Regions from separate parts of the Homo sapiens genome. Here all the other regions are linked to region 1. Evidence: promoter capture Hi-C in human tissues and cell types (Jung and others, 2019). All regions are on one chromosome and are shown on one strand. The core of a region is centred on a gene start or on the middle of the fragment in contact, and the rest is flanking DNA. Distances in the headings are between cores, read along the strand shown.

What was found. Contacts are between HindIII fragments. The study calls those that stand out against the background at their distance.
Region 2: a contact is called between a fragment that was not itself captured here and the fragment with the promoter of TM9SF4 in region 1, in 1 of the 25 tissues and cell types used here (stomach).
Region 3: a fragment that was not itself captured here is called in contact with the fragment with the promoter of TM9SF4 in region 1 in 1 of the 25 tissues and cell types used here (lymphoblastoid cells).

The regions. Positions count from the first base shown.
Region 1 is chr20:32,107,822-32,111,556 of GRCh38, reverse strand. It overlaps TM9SF4 (transmembrane 9 superfamily member 4), which reads right to left and starts at 1,843. Exons shown (of 18, transcript NM_014742.4): 1 at 1,802-1,843. The coding sequence starts at 1,816. RefSeq lists enhancers at 837-1,579, 1,743-1,922, 1,580-2,324, 1,327-2,526. The HindIII fragment of the contact is 9,910 bases long and covers 1-3,735 here.
Region 2 is chr20:32,657,341-32,661,075 of GRCh38, reverse strand. The region is part of intron 1 of C20orf203 (chromosome 20 open reading frame 203); the gene reads left to right. Among named protein-coding and RNA genes, the nearest start is that of C20orf203, 15 kb to the left of the region's middle. The HindIII fragment of the contact is 3,050 bases long and covers 644-3,693 here.
Region 3 is chr20:32,632,694-32,636,428 of GRCh38, reverse strand. It overlaps C20orf203 (chromosome 20 open reading frame 203), which reads left to right. Exons shown (of 6, transcript NM_182584.4): 6 at 2,159-3,735. Among named protein-coding and RNA genes, the nearest start is that of C20orf203, 39 kb to the left of the region's middle. The HindIII fragment of the contact is 6,401 bases long and covers 1-3,735 here.

The sequences.
Region 1 (3,735 bases), core at 594-3,093:
CTCCTCAAACCAGAAAGGCTCCACAAGTGTAGGGACCTTGACCCTGTAATTCACAACTACATCCCTAGTTCCTGGAACAGAATTGGTACTCAAATATTTGTTGACTAAATAGATGTGTACCACATATATGTATTGCTAGCTTATAACCTCTTAAAAATCTCTGAACAAGGCAGGGATTTCCCAGTGCAGTGCCGTAAATACCACTTTACTCAATGTTTTCCTTATAGCAAGAGAGGGTGTGATTTCCTTTTAAGTTCTTACACTATCTCTGTTCTGAATGTGGTACCAGAATATATATACATATATGTAGGTTTCAACATACTACTTTGAGGATTTGCCCCACTCGTGGTTCAGCCTGAAGTCTGAAACCACAGAAACCAGGTAAGGCCATGAAATCTTTTTACCTGACCTCTGAAGTTCTAAATAAGGAATCCCTCATTAAACAAAGGTAAGTTCTCAGTCAGCTAAGAGAAGGAGGGAAAATTGCTACCAGTCAATAATATATCCCTGTTTGGAGAAAACCAACACCAAATTATTTAAGCCAGAATCTTCCTTTGCTAAAGTCAAATGTCATTTCCTTTTCTCTGAGTCTTCCTTGTCATTCACTCCCCGGACGAAATTATCTGCTGAGGAGGCAGTATGCAGGAAGACCCAGGAAATCATTCTGGACTAAGTGACTTCAATTTTAGTTCTGGTCTCTTGACAAGCAGAATTTGAACTAAACTTTTAGAAAAAGGGCCAGTCCTTCAAAGATTTACTTCCAAGGTTCTGCACCAGGAGCCCGCAAGCTCTGACCCAACTTCCAAGCATGGCTATTTTACCTCCACCCTCATCCACACACAGACTTCATCCCAACATATAGCTTCATAATAAAGAGCCTTCATCCCTAACGAGCTGTGTGGCCATGTTGGGGAATGGGAAGGAGAGCAGTGAGGTGGGGCTATTAGTGTTTTTCAAAACGTAGTTCACAGACCACCTCCACTATATAATCACTAGAGTGCTTATAAAAGGGCAGATTCCTGGGCATCACCTAGCCCTATGGAATTAGAATCTCTGGGAGTGGGGCTGCTCAGGAAACTGCATTTTTAGCATGCCTCCCCCTACACACCTCGAGATTCTTATGCACAGTAAAGTTTGAGAACCAACAGGGTAAAAGGTCCCTAAGAGAGGGGCAGGGAGTTGACTGAGAGAAGACAGGAAGGGCAGGGAAGCCTCTAGGGATGAAAGATGGGGGTGGGGTAGGTGAAGGCAAGCTCTGGGGTAGCGGCAGTCAAGGGGGTGCGCGATGGGGACAGCTATGAGTGTAAGTGAGGACAGGGCTCTGAAAAGGATCTGAGGCAGCGCTTGGGCTGGGAGGGTGGTCAGAGGAGAGGTCACATCTGCGGACTGGTTATGATGGTGGGGAGGCGGGGAGAGCAGGGTCTGGACGTGACGGGGAGGAGCAAGGATGAGAATAACGGGAGGGGGTCTTCAGAGGGGTCAGGACAGGGAGGTGAGAAATGGAAAATGGGGCTCACAGTGGGCGGAGACCAAAAGTAGAATGGGAACCGGCGAAGGCAGCAGCCGAGGTCTTCCTCCGAAACGGCGCCTCCCCCAAAACTCGGGGCCTTCACAAGCCTGAGTGCAGGGGCAGGGCCAGGGAGGTGGATTTCGGGGAAGACAAGCCCAGTCAGAGGTAGCCCTCAGGCCTGAGTCAGGGGTCCCGGAGGTGGCTCAGGGCCAGGCATGGGGTGCTGGAAGATCCTGGGATACCCCGGAGGGCCCCGCTCCAGCTCCCGCTCCCGGAGTCTCCTTCACTCACCATCGCCGTCGCCATCTTGGATCCACGTGTCGCCGTAATGACGTCAGCGGAAGTGGTGCTCCCTGGTTACGGAGTTTAACTCCACAAGGTGGTCGTCTGGCTTCAACCGCTCCTGTAGTGGCGGTCAGCAGAGGGGAAAAGGAGTCTTAGCTCCTGCTCGACAGTCTGGTCTGGGAAAGTAAGGTCGCTGATTAGGTGAAGAGAGAGAACGGTGTAACTAAGGAAGCCATATTAGCTCCTGGCAGAAACTGAGCCTCCCTTATTCCCGCTGCATTGTGGGTAATGGGGGTGTGCGAAAGTGCGCTCGTGCTCTCAGCGCCATCTTTACTACTGGCAGGAAGACCCATTGCCAGGGTTACCTGAGACCTTGATTTGAGGGAAAGGGTGGGCACTGGGGCTCCAAGAGCAGTACGACTCCAAGAATAATTTGTAATTATATATTTAAGTATTTGTTTGATTTTAAGTATTTGTTTGACTATCCTATATCCTCTTTAGTAGACTGTAATCCCCATGAGGGTGGACCCTGTTTTTTTGTTTGTTCGTTTTTTACCTTGCTCTTCCTCATTCCCATCTGTGAAATGGGAAGGGGGTTGGTTCATCATAGGCTTGTGATGAGGATTCAGTGACACAGTATTACATAGGATGTATTCAATAAATAATTGTCAGTATATGTTTATGTATACTCCTTTGGGCTTGTGGTAGATGCCCAATACATTATTTTTTAAATGAACGAGTGAAAACCAGCATATTCAGTGGAGGGAGATATCTCTGAATGTGGACGTCATGCACTAGCTTAGTGTGTGACTCCAGACAAGTCACGCAATCTTCCTAAGCCTCAGTTTCCAAATCTGTGAAAAAGAGACTCAAAGAATCATGGTATTAAGGTTGGGAAAGAACTCAAAGTTCATTTGACCCATGTATATCACTTTAAACTGAATACAGTACCAGTGCTATCTTAGACTGTTTTAAAAAAGCTATTAAAAGAATAATAATGATTAATAATAATCATCAGCACTTGCCGAGCATTTTGTGTGCTGCAGCACTTAGCATTATGCTAACAGTTCATTAGACTCTTTTTATCTAATTCTAGGGGGCAAGGGACAGTTGAACTCTGATCCCCACCTATGGGCACCACTGTGGTGGATTTTCTGCAAAGATGGCTGCCACGTAGTTCTGTCCGTCCTTGCATGATGAGCATACGGTTTCTCTCCTCAAGAGATAGACTCTGTTTTACCTCCTGTTGAATCTGGCTGGTCATGTTGGTTGCTTTGACCAATAGGATGTGCTACAAGTGATTCTGCCAGTACTGAGCCTAGGCCTTAAGAGGATTGAAAACGTCTGATTCTACCTTCTTGGTTATAAAGAAGTGTAGCTACTCTGCTGGAAAGGCACCTGGAGAGAGAGGGAGGCCCAGCCAACTCCTCAAGACATTCTAGAAACTACAGCTAAGCACTATAATATGTAACTGAAGTCATCTTGGACATTCCAACCCCCACTGAGCTACTAGCTGAATGCAGCTACATGAATAACCTCATGAACACCATGTGGACCAAAAGAACTGCCCAGCTAAGCCCAGCTTTAGAGTGGGGTGGTTTATTATAGATCATTTCAGTAATAGATCATTGAAACACACACCCATTAACTCTTGTGACCTGCACAACCATCCTGAAGATTGGCAGATTGGCTATTAACCCCAAGGAGGAGGAAGCTTGAGAGACTAGGGGGAATTTGCTGCAGTCTCATAGTTTCCAGACTTGGAACCAGTTTTCCTAGAGCTTCGATCCTGAGTGTTTCCCACCATTTCTAGCTGCCTGAAGAAAGATAACTGATAAGGAGCAAAGCTCCATAAATGGCCTATTATTTTTTAGTATTTCCATTTTTTTTCTCATGCTTTGTATTTTTCCCTAAAGGCCTTTCATATCCCAATCTCTTTT
Region 2 (3,735 bases), core at 919-3,418, 550 kb before region 1:
CTTCCTCTTTCCCTCCTTGATATGGTTTGGCTGTGTCCCCACACAAATATCATCTTGAATTATAGTTTCCATAATCCCCACATGTCGTGGGAGGGACCCAGTGGGAGGTAATCGAATCATGGAGGCAGTTACCCCCATGCGGTTCTCATGATAGTGAGTTCATTCTCACGAGATCTGATGATTTTTATAAGGGGCTTTCCCCGCTTTGCTTGGCACTTCTCTCTCCTGCCGCCGTGTGAAGAAGGACATGCTTGATTCCTCTTCTGCCATGATTGTAAGTTTGCTGAGGCCTTCCCAGTCATGCAGTACTGTGAGTCAATTAAACCTCTTTCCTTTATAAATTACCCAGTCTGAGGTATGTCCTTTTAACAGTGGGAGAATGGACTAATACACACACGTTCTTGGTGGAAACTGGCCACCAGGAAACTATGAGGCTTCCTGTCCATGTGACTTTGGACAAGTCACTTGACCTCCCTGAGCCTTCACTGTCTCCTCTGTAAAATAGGGCCATTGAAAGGGTTTTGTGAGGCTCAGTGCTGATGGCCTAGCACAGTCAGTGCCTGGCAGGTCATGGGCACTCAGGGAGAAGCAGCCCCTCTTTTCGGCAGCAGCGTGGCCTCTCGAAGGTGTGAGCTCCCTGGCATGAGCTGGCCAACCGATTGACCAGTGAAAGGGCATGGAGTAAGCTCGGGCCTGGACTGGCTGAGGAGGCAGTTACAGATCCCCTGAAACCCTGGTTGCTGTTCCTGGCACCTTGGCCCTTGGCTCTGTCATTCAGTGTCCTTTCTCCTGCTGGGAAGGGCACATCCTGTGGCTGGGTGGCTCGGCTGGGAGATGGACCCAGATCCTCTGGAGAGCTGCCCCCCAACCTCCCTGCAATGGGAAAGGTGCTTACCGCACAGCCTCAGAGAGCTTCCCACTGGGCTGCCCTGTACAGGACAGGAGTAGCAACTGTGCCCCAGAGGTGTAGTCCCCATGTGGTCTGCTCCCTGGGCCTTTAAAATGGGGGGAAATAAAGTCAGAATGAAGACTTATAGATCTGCTGAGAAGAGCAAATGCGCTGGCATACAGGACAGCACACTGGCCACTGACACACACTCCCCAGGTTACAACACAACTGTGTTGATGTGGATGATGATGATGATGATGATGTTAATATAATACATTTGATATAATTATATGTCATAATAATTATTGCTATTATCTATTATTATTAATTGATATTACTAGTGCCAGCCACGGAGGTGGGGAGCATGCCCATGGCCCCTCACAGGTGAAAGAGGCTGCCTGGTATGGCAGCTGAGAGCACAGGCTCTGGCTTGCACCTCTTCCTGCCACACAGTCACTGTGGGACATGGACAAGTGGCCTTCCCCTCTCATTCTCAGAGTCCTCATCTGGGAAATGAGGGAAGGCACCCTTCCTGGGATCCTGGCAGAATTCACTGAGGTCCACCCATGAGGGGTCCAGCCAGGTCCAGTCTCAAAGATAGTGGCTGCTGCAGGCACCTCCACTTTGAGCACCTGGGTCCACTCATGTAGGTTCCCTGAGCCTCAGTTTGCTCATCTGTACAATGAAGATGGTGGTCCCACCCATCACTTCAGGTCATCAGGAGGAGGAAATAAAATGAATCAGGTACATCACCTAGCAGGACTGCCTGATGCGTAGAGAGTGTTCATTGAGCTGCGATAATGTTTTTGTGCTGGTAGTAGGCAGGATGAGAACCTGCCCCTAGCCCCAGGCCTCCTGCCCAGGGCTTCTCCTCCTTGGTGAATTGTACGGCCAGAAACAGGGTGACCTTCATCAAGCCAGGATTACATTCCCAGTGTCTTTGGAGTGTGGGGCAAGGGGGTCGGCTGTGCAGCAGCTGCACCAGCTGCCCTGAAAGAGAAGGGGTCTTAGGCCGGGCACGGTGGCTCATGCCTGTAGTCCCAGCACTTTAGGAGGCCAAGGCAGGTGGATCACTTGAGTTTGGGAGTTTGAGACCAGCCTGACCAACATGGAGAAACCCCATCTCTACTAAAAATACAAAAAATTAGCCAGGCGTGGTGGTGCATGCCTGTAGTCCCAGCTACTCGGGAGGCTGAGGCAAGAGAATCATTTGAACCCAGGAGGCGAAGGTTGTGGTGAGCCGAGATCACGCCATTGTACTCCAGCCTGGGCAACAAGAGCGAAACTCTGTTTAAAAAAAAAAAAAGAGAAGTGGGTCTGAGTCTCTGGGAAGCCGCAGTGGGGTCTAGGCCTTGAATCAGCCCTGGACGCCAAGGCCGGAGGACGCTGAGCCTTGGTCTTCTCCTGCTCCATCTCCCTGTAGCTCCAGTGTCATTCCCCACCTACCCTTTGTGCTCACACAATGTCAGGGCCAAAGGAATGCCTGCAACACAGCAAAAAGCTTTATTGTTTTTTCTGTCTGTAGAAGTGATTATTATCCATTGCAGTAACAAAAATTGGAAAATTCAGTAAAATATAAATTAAGAGTATCATAGATTGGGTGTGGTAGTTCACTCCTGTAATCCCAGCCCTTTGGGAGGCTGAGGTGGGAGGATTGCTTGAGCCCAGGAGTTTGGGGCCAGCCTGGGCAATATAGCAAGACCCCAGCTCTAAAAGAAAAAATTCAAAAATTAGCTGGGCATGGTAGTGTACATCTGTAGTCTCAGTTACTTGAGAGGATTCCTTGAGCCCAGGAGTTTGAGGCTGCAGTGAGCCGTGATCCTGCCACTGCACTCCAGCCTGGGTGAGAGTGAGCCCTGTTCTCCAAAAATAAAAAGAGTACCCTAAATCCTAAATTTCCAGGTATTTTTGTTATACACATATAGATACAGATTTTTTCATAAGAATGGAATCCTATTATGCTTGCTTCTTAAAAATCAGAATGCCAGGTGCCAGCTAATTTTTGTATTTTTGGTAGAGTTGGGGTTTCACCGTGTTGGCCAGGCTGGTCTTAAACTCCTGACCTCAGGTGATCCGCCCGTCTCGGCCTCCCAAAGTGCTGAGATACAGGCGTGAGCCACCGTGCCCAGCTGAAATTTTATCTTCTTAAAGTCTCTTAAGTACCTGTTTTAATCTGCATGCTTTCTTTTTCTTTCTTTCTTTCTTTTTTTTTTTTTAGGTTTGGGGGCGCACAGAGTCTAGCTCTGTTGCCCAGGCTGGAGTGCAGTGGCGCAATCTCAGCTGACTATAACCTCCACCTCCCAGGTTCAAGGGATTCTTCTGCCTCAGCCTCCTGAGTAACTGGGATTAGGGGTGCCCACCACCATGTCTGGCTAATTTTTATATTTTTAGTAGAGACGGGGTTTTGCCATATTGGCCAGGCTGGTCTCGAACTTCTGATATCAAGTGATCCTCCTGCCTTGGCCTCCCAAAGTGCTGGGATTACAGGCAGAAGCAACCTTGCCCAGCCTACAGGCTTATTTTTGAACCTGCTTTTTTTTTCTTTTGACTTGGTGGTATATCTTGGACCTCATCGATGTTAGTAAATGTGACGCCTTTTTATTTATTTTTAAAATTTTGTTTTAGAGATGAGGTCTCACTATGTTGCCCAGGCTGGTCTCAAACTCCTTTGTTGTTGTTGTTGTTGTTGTTGTTTTGGAGACAGAGTCTCGCTGTGTCGCCCAGGCTGTAGTGCAGTGGTGAGATCTCAGCTCACTGCAACCTCCTCTTCCTGAGTTCAAGTGATTCTCCTACCTCAGCCTCCCGAGTAGCTGGGATTACAGGTGCCTACCACCACGCCTGGCTAA
Region 3 (3,735 bases), core at 789-3,288, 520 kb before region 1:
GTGTCCTTGCTCTCCCTTTCGTTGATTCCAGCAGGCGTTAAGCACCTTCCAAATCCCCAGCCCTGGCCAAGTGTTCAGATGTCTGCACTAGTTCAGCAAGACAAAGAGAGAGAGAAAAAGCAAATTGTGGCAAATCTAAGCGAAGGGTGTTCATTATACCATTATCTTTGGTTTGGACATTTTCGAAATAAGATATTGGAGGCGGGAAACAAATAGAAATAAATCCTGGGCCCTATAAAGCCCCTGGGGAAGAAAGAGGTAAGGCAGGTCCTTCCCCCAGCAGCTCACCATCCAGGCAAGTATCTGGGCATGCACACCCGTTGTTCAGTGGCAAGGGTGCTCGGTGTGCATGACCTCCCCAGTGGAAGGACCCTGAGGGGGGCCTGGGGGCTGGGGGAACTGTGCCAGATGGAGAGAGAAAGCAGAGGGCATTCAGACAGGAACGGCAGGAGTCAGAGCACGTGGGCTCACTGTACACGGGATGGGAGGACGACACGTCATTCCGGGTGGCTCCCTGGGGGTTTTTGCTGGGCTGGGAGGCATGGCTCAGGAGGATGCTGGAAAGAGAAGTTGTGGCCTCATGGAGTTGCCTCCTAGAATCTGTCTCTGAAAATGAAAATGTGAGACTGGCCCACCATTACAAAATCAGAGAACACAGGAATGTTTATTTTAGACAGGGTCTTGCTCTGTCACCTAGGCAAGCGATCCTCCCACCTCAGCCTCCCGAGTAGCTGGGACTACAGGCACACACCACCATGCCCAGCTAATTTTTGTATTTTGTAGAGACAAGGTATCCTCATGTCCAGGCTGGTCTTGAACTCCTGGGCTCAAGCAATCCCCCCACCTCAGCCTCCCAAAGTGCTGGGGTTACAGGCATGAGCCATGGTGCCCAGCCGAGGAAATGATTATTATTATTTATTTATTTTTCTTTCTGAGATGGAATCTCACTCTGTCACTCAGGCTGGAGTGCAGTGGTGCGATCTTGGCCTTCTGCAACCTCCATCTCCCGGGTTCAAGCAATTCTGCCTCAGCCTCCCGAGTAGCTGGGATTACAGGCATGTGCCACCATGCCTGGCTAATTTTTGTATTTTTTAGTAGAGATGGGGTTTCACCATGTTAGTCGGGCTGCTCTTGAACTCCTGACCTCATGATCTGCCTGCCTCGGCCTCCCAAAGTGTTGGGATTACAGGCATGAGCCACCGTGTCTGGCCCATTTTTATTTATTTATTTATTTTGAGACACGGTCTCACTCTATTCCCCAGACTGGAGTGCAGTGGCACAATCTTGTCTCACTGCAACCTCCGCCTCCCAGGTGATTCTCCTGCCTCAGCCTCCTGAGTAGCTGGGATTACAGGCATGCACCACCATGCCCGGCTAATTTTTGTATTTTTGGTAGAGACAGAGTTTTGCCACATGGGCCAGGCTGGTCTCAAATTCCTGGCCTCAAGTGATCCGCCCACCTTGGCCTCCCAAAGTGTTGGGATTACATGTGTGAGAGACCGCGTCTGGCTGAAATTATTTTTAAAAAGGAACTACAACCCCCAGGTTAGTCCATCACCAGAGATAACCACTGTGAAGCATTTGACACATTTCTTCCTAATATCATTTCATATATATATATATATGCATATGTAGGTCTCCTAATAAAAAATAGTTTGCCTCTTGCTGTCTTTTACCTACAGTTACATCAGATGCATTGTCTGGTGCCTTTAAGTAGTCTCTGAAATCTGACTCCTCAGCCTTTTGGATGACTCCAGCCGGTGGTGGCCCTTTGACAAGTGTGGCCCCTTCTCGTGGCTGGGCACAGAGGCTGTTTCACTCGTTTTCTGTGATAAAAACACCGCAGTAAACATCCTCCGTCCTGCGTAACTTCATGTCCACATTGCTGATTGTTTTGTTGTGTTTTTTTCTGATAAATTTCTGGACATGAAATTCTCGGAAGCCCTGCTGGGCCCGGAGCTGGCTAGGTACTCGGGAGGGTGCTGGGCTTCCTAGAGCCACGCGTCCACACCTGAGGACAGCTTGGACCCAGCTGTAAGGAACAACGTGCACTTCTTGAATGTCTCACGCTGTCTTCCACCGCTTTGTCCATGATGTCACAGTACCTCTCGCCTCCCCTCCCAATGCCTGTCTTGCTAATTCTTTCTTATCTTTCCAGACTCCAGCATAACCTTCTCCAGGAAGCTTTTCCAGAGCCCCCAGGCTAGGAACCTCCCCCCAACCCCTGAACTCAAGCCCCAGCAGCCCGTGCCTGCGCCATCTCCATCAGAGCTGCATCTCTCTGGGTCTCTGGGTAACAAGTGCCATTTCTTTGTTGTTTTCTGTGTCCCCCAAGGACAAAGCTCAGGCTGGATTCATCTCGGAATTCCCAACACCGGGGTAGAACTGGCTCATTTCAATTTCAGTCAATGTTTGTTGAGGAAAGGAGTGAAGAGTTGGACACATGAATGAACGCATGAAACAGTCCGGAGTGGGGAAGCTGAAGCTCAGGCATCAGGATCCGGGAGAAGCATCCAGTCCAGGCGGACGGGGTGGAAGGTTCAGAGCAGGGGCCCCAAGTCAGGAGTAGGGAGGCAGACGGCAAGACCTCCTTCCATGAAAGGAGGCTGGGACCAGGGGACCAGGTAGTGCAACGCGGTGAGGGGGCTGTCAGGGCGACTGGCCGGAGGAGTCAGAGGCAGGAGGCACCACCAGGTTACAGACAAGGACCTTCTACAAGAGGGAAACGTGTCATGGGCTCTGGAGCCCCTGTCCAGGTTCAAATTGTGACCCTGTGCCAGGGACAGCTTCTTTGTGCCTCAGTTTTTCCCATAAAATGAGGATAATAATACTTCATTCATGCCTTTTTTTCCCCTCAACAAACATTTGTTGTATGTCTGCTGTGGGCCCAGGACAGGAGGCTGAGAAGGAGCTGACCACAGTGGTCACACAGCCAAGCCCTGCTGCTGAGATCTGACCCCAGTTCGCCTGTCACAAGTTCTATCTGTGCCTCGTTGTCTGCCTCCTGGGGCTGTTATGAGGGCTGAAGAAGGGGCAGGCACAGAGGAGACACTTACTATATGATCATTGTCCTCCTAGAGTATCATCACCATCAGGTGGACTTCAGTGGCCATCCCAGGCCTCCACGGATCAACCACAAGATCTTGGAGAATGTCCTTACCCTCCAAGCCTCAGTTTACCTTTAGGGTGACCAACCATCCTGGTTTGTCCAAAACTGAGGGTTTTCCTGGCACAGTCCCAGGCAAACTGGGATGGTGAGTCACTGATATAGTTTGACTCTGTGTCCCCACCAAATCTCACCTTGAATTTTAATAATCCCTAGGTGTCAAGAGCAGGACCAAGTAGAGATAATTGAATAATGGTGGCAGTTTCCCCCATGCTGTTCTCATGATAGTGAGTGAGTTCTCACGAGATCTGATGGTTTTATAAGCAGCTTCCCCCTTTGCTCAGTATCACTCTCCCTCCTGCCGCCCTGTGAAGAGCTGCCTTCCACCATGATTGTAAGTTTCCTGAGGCCTCCCCAGCCACGCAGAACTGTGAGTCAATTAAACCTCTTTTCTTTATAAATTACCCCAGTCTCGGGCATTTCTTCACAGCAGCGTGAGAACAGACTAATCCCGTCACCCTGGTTTCCTCATCTCTAACACAGGGACCACCTGCCTCCCAGGGCTGTTGTGCAGAACAGAAATAAGCCTATGGAAAAGGCAGAAAACCATGGAGCCAGAATTCTAGATC